Regions from separate parts of the Homo sapiens genome. Here all the other regions are linked to region 1. Evidence: promoter capture Hi-C in 16 types of primary human blood cells and fetal thymus (Javierre and others, 2016). All regions are on one chromosome and are shown on one strand. Each heading gives the region's core, a stretch centred on a gene start or on the middle of the fragment in contact. The rest is flanking DNA. Distances are from core to core; before and after follow the strand shown.

Evidence for each region. The method cuts DNA at HindIII sites, captures the fragments that hold promoters and counts their contacts. A CHiCAGO score of 5 or more calls a contact.
Region 2: a fragment that was not itself captured here is called in contact with the fragment with the promoter of PCDH17 in region 1 in 1 of 17 cell types (endothelial precursors); the score reaches 7.5 in endothelial precursors.
Region 3: a contact is called between a fragment that was not itself captured here and the fragment with the promoter of PCDH17 in region 1, in 1 of 17 cell types (endothelial precursors). The highest score is 5.7, in endothelial precursors.
Region 4: a fragment that was not itself captured here is called in contact with the fragment with the promoter of PCDH17 in region 1 in 1 of 17 cell types (naive B cells); the score reaches 8.2 in naive B cells.

What each region holds. Positions count from the first base shown.
Region 1 is chr13:57,630,406-57,633,133 of GRCh38, reverse strand. It overlaps PCDH17 (protocadherin 17), which reads right to left and starts at 1,390. Exons shown (of 4, transcript NM_001040429.3): 1 at 1-1,390. The coding sequence starts at 587. RefSeq lists an enhancer at 204-883. The HindIII fragment of the contact is 2,681 bases long and covers 1,197-2,728 here.
Region 2 is chr13:59,679,991-59,682,877 of GRCh38, reverse strand. All of the region lies in intron 27 of DIAPH3 (diaphanous related formin 3), which reads left to right. Among named protein-coding and RNA genes, the nearest start is that of DIAPH3-AS1, 330 kb to the left of the region's middle. The HindIII fragment of the contact is 6,478 bases long and covers 1-2,887 here.
Region 3 is chr13:59,906,362-59,909,247 of GRCh38, reverse strand. The region is part of intron 20 of DIAPH3 (diaphanous related formin 3); the gene reads left to right. Among named protein-coding and RNA genes, the nearest start is that of DIAPH3-AS1, 100 kb to the left of the region's middle. The HindIII fragment of the contact is 2,085 bases long and covers 369-2,453 here.
Region 4 is chr13:60,431,211-60,434,218 of GRCh38, reverse strand. All of the region lies in intron 1 of TDRD3 (tudor domain containing 3), which reads right to left. It overlaps LOC124903178 (a long non-coding RNA gene), which reads left to right and starts at 1,999. Exons shown (of 3, transcript XR_007063814.1): 1 at 1,999-2,054; 2 at 2,180-2,315. The HindIII fragment of the contact is 7,370 bases long and covers 1-3,008 here.

The sequences.
Region 1 (2,728 bases), core at 141-2,640:
ACCAGTTCTGGGAACTTGGTGCCGTCGCCGCGGGACTTAACGTCCAGTCCAAAGAGGCCGTGATCGTCGCGCGTGAGCAGGTAGGTGCGGAGCCCATTCTCGCCGGCGTCGGGGTCATGTGCGCTGGTGAGGGGGAAGCGGGTGCCCGGAGCAGCGTTCTCCGAGATGTCCATTTCGATCTGGTCCGAGGAGAAGGAGGGCGCGTTGTCGTTGATGTCCTGGATCTCTACCTTGATCATGCAGATCTCCTTGTCGTTGGCGAACACCTCGAGGGACAGCTGGCACTTGGCATTGTGGCGGCACAGGGACTCGCGGTCGATGCGCTGCTTGGTGTAGAGGAGCCCGCTGTCTGCGTCCACGTCCAGCAGGTGCGGTGCGGAGTTCTCCAGCACCCGGTAGCTACCCGACTTGCTGCGCCCTCCGCCGCCGCGCTCTGCAGGCGGAAGCCCAGGCTGCAGTCGAGCATCCCTGCCGATGTTCCCGATCACCGTGCCGGCCCCTTGCTCCTCCGGCACGGAGTAGTTGAGGTTCTTGAGAGTGAGGGCAGGGGCCCATAGAAGAAAGCAGCAACAGATGGAAAGGTACATCCCAGACCTGTAAGGTGGGGGCAGGAGCAATCGGACTGGAGGAGCCAGAGAGGGAGTGCGCGCCAGCCTGGGGCCCTGGCGCAGCGTGCGCGCGCGACGCGAGCCACAAGTCTATGGGTCCTTTTTTCCCTCTGCACCCGAGCTGCGGCACCCGGTGGTCTCTCCTTATTCTGCTCAAGTTCCCTGAACCTGTTGATCTACAGCATCCGCACTGGGTGAGAAGCTGCGGTGCAGCAGAGCTGCAGGGGCTTGGAGCAAGGCGGTGGCTTCCTGCGGCTGGGGGTGAGCCAGGGGTTTCGTCTCTCCCGCCCGGACTTCGGGAGGCTCAAACTTGAGCGATGAGGCAGGCGATAAGAAGGAAATCTCGTCTGGGAGAGATGATAATGAGCTAAAGAATCAGTAGGTTTTCCTCGCTCCCGCTAGGGTGCTGCAAATCTACTCCCGCCCGGAGACTCCGGAATACTCTTCACATCGAGTGGGGGAGGGAGCAGGGAGGTGTGTCTCTAGGCAGATCCGAAAGTGAAATTCTTACTTGCTGCTCGCCTCCCGTGATGAAATTGATGGGGATGAAGAGCAACGAAGACAGAGTCACAGATATATTTTGAAGCTTCCCCAGCGCACCGTGAAATGTCTGCTTGCTGCGCGGGCCGGTCTGTTTTCAGGCAGTGTTTTGCTGCATTTAGAGATCTAATCTTGCATTGCTGGCTGAGGCAGCGGCGGCGGCGGACTGCATCTACCAGCCAAGCGTATTTTTTTTTTCCTCTCTCTCCTTTCCGAGCAGCCAAAGGGAGGGGAGGAAATGCAGCGTAAAGAACTAGTGTCCCGATTTGTAGTTTCCTCTCCCCACCAGGCTCCTCCCTCTCTTCCTCGGAAAAGGCTCTCCCCCGAAATCAAGAAAGCCACAGCCTGATCAGCATTTGCTGTGTGAGTCTATTGGGAGGGGGGAAGTAGAGAGATAAATCTTCGCCTCTGTTCGTAGAACACACTCTCTGATTTCTCTACGCCAAGCCAGTAGCCTCCGCTACCATCCCATCCTCTCCCCGCGAGCAAGGACTTCTCTCCAAGCAGTTTAATTCCAGTTTGCTTTTCTTCCCAGGCGAAGGGAAATCAACAGGCAACTCATGGTTGGACGTGCACATTTAAAGGAGGAGGGGGGAGGCCGAATAAAAAGGAAGGGGGAGCCTCCCTCCCAGTCCTTGCACACACACTCTCCCTGTCTCTCGCTAGAAGGGAAACAGTCTCTGCATTCACAGGGCTGGGCTGTCAAGTGCCTCTTTTCTTTCTATTCAGCATCTCCTTCCAATAGCCCTGCCTCCCAGTCCTCTTCATCTAGAAAAGAAAACCTTGGCGAGGAATAAAAGTGATGAATATTTGAAGCAAATAAAGTACGTGTTTTTTTTTTTCCTTCAATTTTCTCTTATAGTAGGAGGAGTGGGCTGGATGAAAGCAACACATCAAGGTTTGGCGTGATGCATTCTGCAGTCTCTCTTTCAGTTTTTCTGGGCGACTCAGGGAGGGCAGGGGGTGCAGAGCTGCGGCCGCGGCGGTCCAGCCAGGGGCTCCTACCCCGGGGAGCTCCCTCCGAGGGGATGTTAGACACAGGTCTGTCTACACATTATTTCGGGTTCTGGAGGCGCCTCGACATACGGGAATGACACATCCAGAAATGCAGGTGTTCCGATCTGCCGGATGAGTCAGAAGCAGCGGAACGAATCGTATTCACTCTCGCCTCATGGTCCTCCCTTCACAGACATTAGTTGCGGCTTCTTCCTAACGCTTTCTCTGACTCAGTCTATAGAAAGAAAAACCAGATTCATGTTTTTGGGGAAAAAGAAAATGCAAGAGAAAAGGATGGAGGGAAGAAGGTGAAGCTGAATCTAGCAGCACTTTTACTCTACCTCTTTCTGCCGGAGTCCGAGGTTCTGGAAAACAAGGCGTCTGCTTTGCTAGGTGTATTGGTTTATTTATTTTGTTTATTTTTTTTAAACCTTTCCTCTTGGTTAGGCGAGAGGTACCCCGAAATTTTTCAGAGTCTTGGAAAAGGAAAAACAAAATCAGGTTTCCAGTAATTGTTCCCAGCTTAGCCTCGCATCATAGTTCAAGATTTTCCTCTCAATTTTTTCTATTCACAAAGTCCAACA
Region 2 (2,887 bases), core at 133-2,632, 2.0 Mb before region 1:
TTGAGTATGAGGCAGGGGCACAAAAAACTACAACACCAGGCTAACTAGGATACAAAACATATGAGAGAAATACAATACAAGTTGGCATCGCTATGTTTTGGAAAATCAGGAGGTCATATTTGATTGAGATTTGAGGGATGAAAGATTATTATAGACAATGATTCAGACTAGGGAATAGGGTATTCCTTGTTATACAGACAGTTTTATGCAGTATTATATATAGAGTTTAATGCAGTATTTTATATAGAGTTTTCTGCATAAGTACAGCTAAAAAATTTAAAGGCATTTTAAGAAACTGCACTATTTCCTAATAGAAGAATAGTGTCCTAAAGCATAGCTTGCTAGTGAGAGAAAACTATATGCTAAAACTTTAACCTTTAAAATAGATTGAAGCCAGGCATGGAGGCTCACACCTGTAATCCCAGCTACTCAGGAGGGTGAAGGGGGAGGATCACTTGAGCCCAGGATTTTGAGGCTACAGTGAGCTATAATGGTGCCACTGCACCCCAGCCTGGGCGACAGACAAGACCCTGTCAATAAATGATTATTAAATAAATAATAGAGCAAGATTTTTGTGGTTAGCTCATTTTTGTTAAAAAAGAAAACAACTGAAAAATAATTTTATGACTCTGGACCCTTCGTACAAATTGGGTAGTATTTGTTAAAATGTGAGGATTTATGTATAATAACATCAAAATAACTAGCTTCTAATATTTTCCAATGTACTAGTGAACCTGGGCCATAAATTTTGCTGCTCTTGTCAGTAGATATACAGCAAAGATAAGTATGGACAGTACTCTGTACCATATAAGCAGAAAACCTGGAAATTAACATTCCTGGTTCTCTTTAACTAGAGAGCTAACTATATTTTTAGGATATTTGTCAGAAGCAATATCAGTAAAAATGAAGTGTCTCATAGTTTCTTTTTGGTTCATTGTACTGATATAGAAATACTTCCTGCTTCTTTTACAGCATTTACAGTTTAAAAATGTTATTAAAGTGCTATAGTTTGGAGCCAGGAGCTGAATTGGATTACTTGAGCTTGCATCAGAGCTCCACCCTAACTTGCCTCTTAATTAGAACAGGTTTCTTAATCCCACAAAGCCTCCTTCCTCATTGTGAATTAGAGAGTATAAAAATCATACTTTCTTAGGCTACATGATGATTTTTGTAAAGCACTTTGTGCAAACCTGGCACTTAGTAAGTGCTCTAACATACTAGTATTGTTTTTATAATGAGTCTTGTAAAATATAGCCTGAAATGGAAAAAAAAAACACTTAAAACAGTTATTTTATTAATAAGTTGGTGAGAAAGTGAACATAATTTTGTTATAACTAAATTTGAGTTCCTTATTTGTGGATTGTGTTATAGTTGAAAATTTTTTTTAATCTTTTTGTTTTTGAGAGAGGCTCTCACTCTGTTGCCCAGACTGGAGTGCAGTGGTGCAGTCATGGCTCACTGCAGCCTCAACCTCCCAGGCTTGAGTGATCCTCCCACCTCAGCCTTCCAAGTAGCTAGGACTACAGGTGTGTGCCACCATGCCCTGGCTAATTATTTCTCTTAATTTTTTGTAGAGACGGAGTCTTACTATATTGCCCAGGCTGATCTTAAAGTCCTGGTCTCAAGCAATCCTACCATCTCTGCCTCCCAAAAAAATGTTGGGATTACAGGCATGAGCCACTGAGCCCGGCATTTTGTTGTTTTTTTAACAAAGTATGTGTGATATGCCACATAATAAACCTCATTGGAAAGACAAGGAGTAACACCTCCCATTATAATAATCTTTAATAAGTAAAGCTATAACTAGGTACAATAAGATTTGTATATACCAGGAGAAAAAAGGCAAGAGATTAGATTAGATAAATAAAATGATTCAGATCGGAAGGTTCGTAAGAGTTGCATTACCAAATGTGTTTGGTAAAACTACAGAACACATTGCTTCCGTGTTCTACTCCAGACAGCGGTCTTTTCGTATCATGAGATTCCATCAATTGCAAAGGTTTCTAGATTCCATTATTGCAATGTTTTCCTTCCCCTTCCAAATAAAATGAAAGCCAATAGAGAAAAGTAGTACCATTGCAAAATCTAAGACCTTTAGAAATAGAATAATTAATTAATAAACATATTATTATTTTACCATAATAGTTGTAAATGAGTGTACTCTGTTCTATATTTTTTAAGTCACCAAAAGTTATTCAGGGAACTATAATGCCCCATCAAATTTAATGATTGGTGACAGGTGTAGCCGTCTGACCTCTAGTGGCTATAGCTTATAGCTGCATTTTCATTGATTGAGTTAAAAAAAAAAAAAAGACTAAGGAAAGAAGTCTTCTTAGATCCTAATAACAGGGTTCTGCAAGTAAGTGTATGATTAGCATCCCTGAAGTTCTGCTGGTCTAATTGTTGGGGTACTAACTACCTCAAGGAACAGAGGTCAGAACCAACTTCGTTAATCTATGAGTTTAAATGCTTGCAATGTGTCAGCAGATTCTGCCCTGAGGCCCAGCAGCCAAGCAATCTCTACAGCATTTTTTTAATAGGCATTCTAAAGTTCATAACAAGCTCTCAACACTGATATTCAACAACACGTCATAGGCTTGCATGAAATATTTTTAAAATCCTGATAGGATACATATGTATGACAATGTATGTTTTTATTAGATATCTATATGAATAATATATCTTTCCTAATGTGTAGGTGTGTGTGTTTCTTAAATATTTTGGGGTTTAAATTGACAGCATTACTCTTCCTCATATACTCCACCATGTTTTTGAGACAACACTTCTGAGTTCAGGGTGCTGCTTGTGACCAAGAAACCAAATGGAACTGACCAACAGTTTGAGGACATAAACCTTCTGATTATTTTGAACCACTGAACTAACAGAT
Region 3 (2,886 bases), core at 162-2,661, 2.3 Mb before region 1:
TGATGTGTTTTCAGTTTATCAACATTATCAATAATACAGTAATTTGATGATTTTAAGAAATTGGTTATAATTGCCAAGTGTATTTCTGTAAGACTTCCATAATAATGTTTCATTTTTAAAGTAATAAACTTTTTGAAGTGTTTGTATCAAAAATGGGCAATTAACTTGAAGTGAATTAAACTCCAGATTTCTACAAGACATCCTTGCCTTAAAAACATGTTTACTTCTTGATTTAGCCTAGATTTAAAGTACATTAGAAATGTGCTAATCATCTTTACCTGAAAAATCATCACACAGTTAGATATAAGAAAAAGTCAAGAGTTTGGGGTAGTGTTAGTGCTTTCCCAGCTCCAAATAGGACCAAAGCTTGACTTTTCATTTGTTTTTCACTGTAGAAAAATTAGCTCTTAACTCTTTCATCTTTAGGTTCCGTAGACTGATGTTATGATTTCTAGCATTTTCATTTGAACAAAAATTAGTTAAAATTCTACAGTTTTTACTTGCCACTAAGTTTAAGTTTTCTTTTATCCAGTTATGTGAATTCATTAATTTGATTCATATTAATTACAATTTTTTCTGAAAGGTTGTGTTTTATTTAAACTGATACCCTAACTTGAGACAGTAGATTAAATTCAGTCAAGTTGCTTGCATTATATAATCAACTTTAATTCTCCATAAGAATTAGTTAAAAAACATAAGATGTAGCTCCACCAGGATATTGATGTTTATGTTATTTTCCTCTTTGATAGAAAGGCAGGGTGTAAAAGTAAGACATCTAAAATATTAGTAACCAATGTCAATTAAGGTCAATTAGCATATATCAGAAATAGTTTGTATACTGGAAATGTCTTACTTTTTTTTTTTTTTTTTTTTTTTTTGAGACAGAGTCTAGCTCTGTCACCAGGCTGGAGTACAGTGGCACGATCTCGGCTCACTGCAACCGCCTCCTGGGTTCAAGCGATTCCCCTGCCTCAGCTACCTTAGTAGCTGGAACTACAGCTTGGTGCACAACACCAAGCCCAGCCAACTTTTTGTATTTTTAGTAGACATGGGGTTTCACTATGTTGGCCAGGATGGTCTTGATCTCTTGACCTTGTGATCTGCCCACCTCGATCTCCCAAAGTGCTGGGATTACAGGTGTGAGCCACTGCACCCGGCCATATGTCTTACTTTTATCATGTATCACTTAGATACAGTTTTCTAGGGCTCTATATCCTGTAGAGTATGGTATACAAATTTACTGTGGGAATTATGTCAATTTCTATTAAATTGTATATCCTTGAAACTTCTAACCACTAAACCATGTGATGTGCCTAATTTTTCACATTTTCTGTAATATAGACTTTCATGTTCATATTTATGTCTCTGTTGAAATTGGAAGCAAAATTATTTAATGCTGATATTACCTCTCTTTCTAATTAAGTCATAAATGTATATGTAGTAGACATGGATACTTTTTGTGGTACTCAGTTCTTAGTTGTTCATCTGTCACTTATATAGTAATTCAGAAACTTAAGTTACCTTCTTGAACTGATCTCCTTGTGGTTCTTGTCACTGGACATGCACTCATTTGATCAGGATAGCTCTCAAGGTGTTCTAGAGCTGATTATCCATGAGTGGGGTAAAGTAGTGCTGGTAACATGTGGTCGTAAGTTGGCTTGTACCTATTAGGATTGAAATCCAGTTATATGATTTCAAGGCCTTAGAGCTTAATTATATTATTGACTTTTTTTTGTAGATGATCATATATTTATATGTCCTGTGTTTTCTAGGAGATTTTGGTATATGAAAAGTAACACATCAAAAATCCAATAAACTCTCATTTAATGCTAAAAGACTAAGGATCCTGGCCAAATGGTGTTTTAGAGGAGTGCCCTGAGAGGTGGTCTATCTCTGTATCTTTTTATAGTGGCTTGTAATGAATAAGGCCATTTACATGCTGTTTTTGTTGGTTTAGGTTCTGGGCAGAGGACACTGAATACTGACTGATGTGCTTAATTTGAAATATTCTTTTCCCTGGACAGTCCAGGACAAAATTTTCTTGTGGAGAAATTGGTGTATATTTGAGAGGCAATAGCCTCCTCTTTTACTCAGCTTAATTTTCTATCACTAGATTAACAAATGAAAATATACTTTGTCATTAATTGGAGTCATTGCTTGTGTCTCTTCTTGGATTCTTTCCATCCCTGTTTATCCCCAACACCTTCTCGTCCATCTTTCCAAAATATTACCTACTTACCAAGGGTTGATTCCGATGGAGTAGAGCCTGACTTTAGTTTTATGACTGCATTTCTTGTATTTGTAGGCTTTCTTTGATCAATAAGCTATTAGGTAAAATCACTGTGTTCACAGTGGCATGCTTTAACTGTGAGAAATGATTTATGTAAATATTCAGTGGGATCAGAAGATTAGCTGAAGTTTGGAAAGAGGCCTAAAAATTTGCAGTTGAAGCTTGGTGTACTAGACTTTCTTTGATTAAAAATTCTAGGTTTTTGAGTATTTGTCTCCACGTTATTTAATTCTGTTAAGCTTCCTGTTCTTCAAAGAAATCAAACATTTATAGGAAGATTGAATCGAACAAATGTCCTGTTTGTGTGCTGTATTTTGATCTACCACCATTTGGTGTCACTGTAGGGCAGGGCTTTTAAACTTTGTGCAGCTGAGGCCTTTTTAATGAAAAATGTTGTAGGAAATTCGTGCATATCTCCCTGCATTAAAAATCCCTCGCTTTAAAATACATCATATATTCTTGTTGTAAAACATTCAAATAACATAGAAATATTGAATACAATGTAGATGTCCCCCGTATCCCACTACCTCTTTTCATTCCACACAAATGATCATTTTTAACAATCTGTTGTACTTCTAATTCCATTTCTGTGTATT
Region 4 (3,008 bases), core at 407-2,906, 2.8 Mb before region 1:
GGATTGCAGGCATGAGCCACCACACCCAGCCTTAAGTGCTCAAAACTTTTTAAAAAGGGATTTTAGAAAATGCTTCCTTTAGTAAATGCTTCTATTTATGAGATGTCAAAATTCCGTCTTAGAATCACTTAACTGTCTTCACGTCGTGTTCAGAAGTCACTTGGCATATAAAACAGACATGTCCAAACCATAGCTCAAGAATCTCAATTGGCAGAAAACTGTGATAAAACAAACACTATTGTTTTAAACTCATTGTTCCAGATAGTAGATCTCCATTACCACCCTTTACCATCAGTAAGGAAAGAAGAGGGCCAATTTTCTTTTGATCCATTTCTTTGAAAGCAGGTAAAATCGGTGAATCTAACTTACTCACTGGCTATAATGTATAGATAATGAAACGGAGCAAGGCAAACTACACATCAGCTGACTGAGCTAAAGGGGGCAGCCATGTCTGCACGAGGACTAGTAAAGCAGTTACTGCGTCAGATTTGATTTTTAGCTTTTAGATTTCCGTAAAGCAGTGTACAAGCCAAACAAAACAGGGCTCAGCCTGCATGTGGTACATGTACTTTGTACTTATTAAACACATTAGTTTATTTAAATTATTTGCTCCTGTTCACTTCCAAGTTGTCTCTGACATACAGTGTTGTGCCGTAAGTGTACCTCAGATAGTATAACATTCATAGCCAACTTCCTTTCCAAGCAAGAAAAGAACCAAGTATCTTTTAGGTCACTTTGTACGCACTGGGAGAGCAAAGAACACAATTATGCCTGTAACAAATGTTCTCTGGTGAGTTGTTTACATCACACTAAAAAGTATCAAATCATTCAGTCTGGTCATTGACATAAATATTTTACAAACTGGACATATAAAGAACCCATGCTTACTTCAGACTTTGAGGACTACTTATATTTTTAAGGAGGAGGAATGTTTTAATTGGCCAGAAAGTGAGCCATAAAAGCAAACATTAAAGTTTTATTCTCTTTTACCCACTGCCACCCATTGAAATAATGAATGCCCATTCAAATCTGAACTGCAACTTGACTTCCTGAAATAATAAAATACAGAATTATTGCACATTGATATAAACTGGGCTGATGACACATGAAAAGTCTTTAAAATGCCAATGAGAAAACCAAGAGTGAAAACATTCTTCACAAATGGATAGGGACTATGTCAAAAAAAATAAGAAGATATCTGGACAGTGACTGGTACATGGTGTTCTTAATTGCCCCTGAATAAAACCCAAATCAAATGGCTTCATGCAGTTTTTGGGGTTCTAACCTACACCTGATTATCTGCTACCACACTGAGGTTACTAGCCCCCGCACATGATATCCAAATACCAAAATGGGAGTTTGATAAATGAATTCTTGCTTAGCCACAAAGAAAATAAAGATAACTAATTCCCAATTACCCAAGCTAAGGTGGGACAAGAGAGGGAAAAAACATAAAAGATAATTTAAAAAATAACTTCTATTAAAGGATATTTTTGATCTTAGCAAATATGGAAGTAACTGACCTACTGCAAATTCCCAAAACTTCAATGTTGTAAAGATATTTTTTAAAAATTACCCATACGAAGATCTCTCTGTTCACTCTGCCTAAACTGTTTCTCTCTCCATAGTGTAAATTGATTGTAATACACCTGCCAAAAATTTGTTTTATATATTATTCTTATAGACTCTTACTATACTATACCTAGTCAGAGACACTGAAAGAATTAACTTGCCAATTCCCTCCTCTAGGGCAGAAGGAAAATGGCTTGAAAGTTCTTGTTTATGAATATAACTTGGGAAAATACAGTATTTTGCCATAATGAATAACAAGATTAGTAAGGTAAAAATGCTAGTAAGAATTGGGGCACAAGATTTTCTTCAGATAACCTGTTAAAAATAAAATCAATATATTCAATACAGCTTACAGATATATTGGAAAGATAGCACATGAGAATATAAAATGGAACACCAGCAGTTAGTTGAATGAATCCATGAATTCCATGGCAAAAGCTCTATTAAGCATAATAAACAGAAGGATCAGAATTCTACAAAAGGTAATTCAGAGGAGTGAGTACTATGAAAAATGGTGGAAAATGAAAAAAGAGGTCTTTTATTTTGTTTCCCTTAACAACTAAGTACCTCTTCTATTAATATTACCACATTTTCTTTTCTTGTCTAGGCAAAGTAGCCACTTCCTATCCCACATTGAATACCACAATCTGTATTCCAACAATTAAACCAGGACTTGAATCAATGCTAGCTTAAAAATTTAATTTTCTCTGTGGCTTATATATAAATGGATCAGATAAATAAAGGTACGTACTATTTAAAGTACTTCTAAGTACCAGCATGTAGTGTTAATCTTAATGTAGTAAACTACTTTCAATATAAGATTTATTTTACTCATTAATCAACTATCTATTAATATGCATTATTTTTTCAGTTTTTAGTTTTTATGATTTCTTTGCCATCATAAATATACATTAGTTCCACCTTTTTTTTTTTTTTTTTTTTTGGTAAAGATAGTCTTGCTTTGTTGCTCAGGCTGGTGAAAGGATTAATATGCAAAAAAAAATTTTTAATTACTTAACACTATTTAAGAATCTTCTTCTAAATAAACAACTTCTGATGATGCAAAACAATATGAAATGCCTTGATATCATCATGGTTAACATCCACACTGGTCAAATATCAGTATTTCAGTAGCCAAACAAAAAATTTATTTTAAAAATTGAGATGGAAATTTAAAAAATTTCTAGGGAAAATCCTTTGTAAGTTTATATCTAATTTAACAGTATTCAAAAGTGTTTAAATTCTGAAAAGTTAAACCTAGATAGCTTTTTGTTAAGCACTTCCTTTAAAAAGCTGAAGACTATCAGCTAGCTAATTGTGAAAGCTGTACTACTTGAAAGCACCACTAGATGACAACCTTGTTTCACAAGTAAAATATTATACTCCTGTTGAAGCTAAGACCCTGAAGAGATACTAAACTAGCTTAAAGGTTTCTG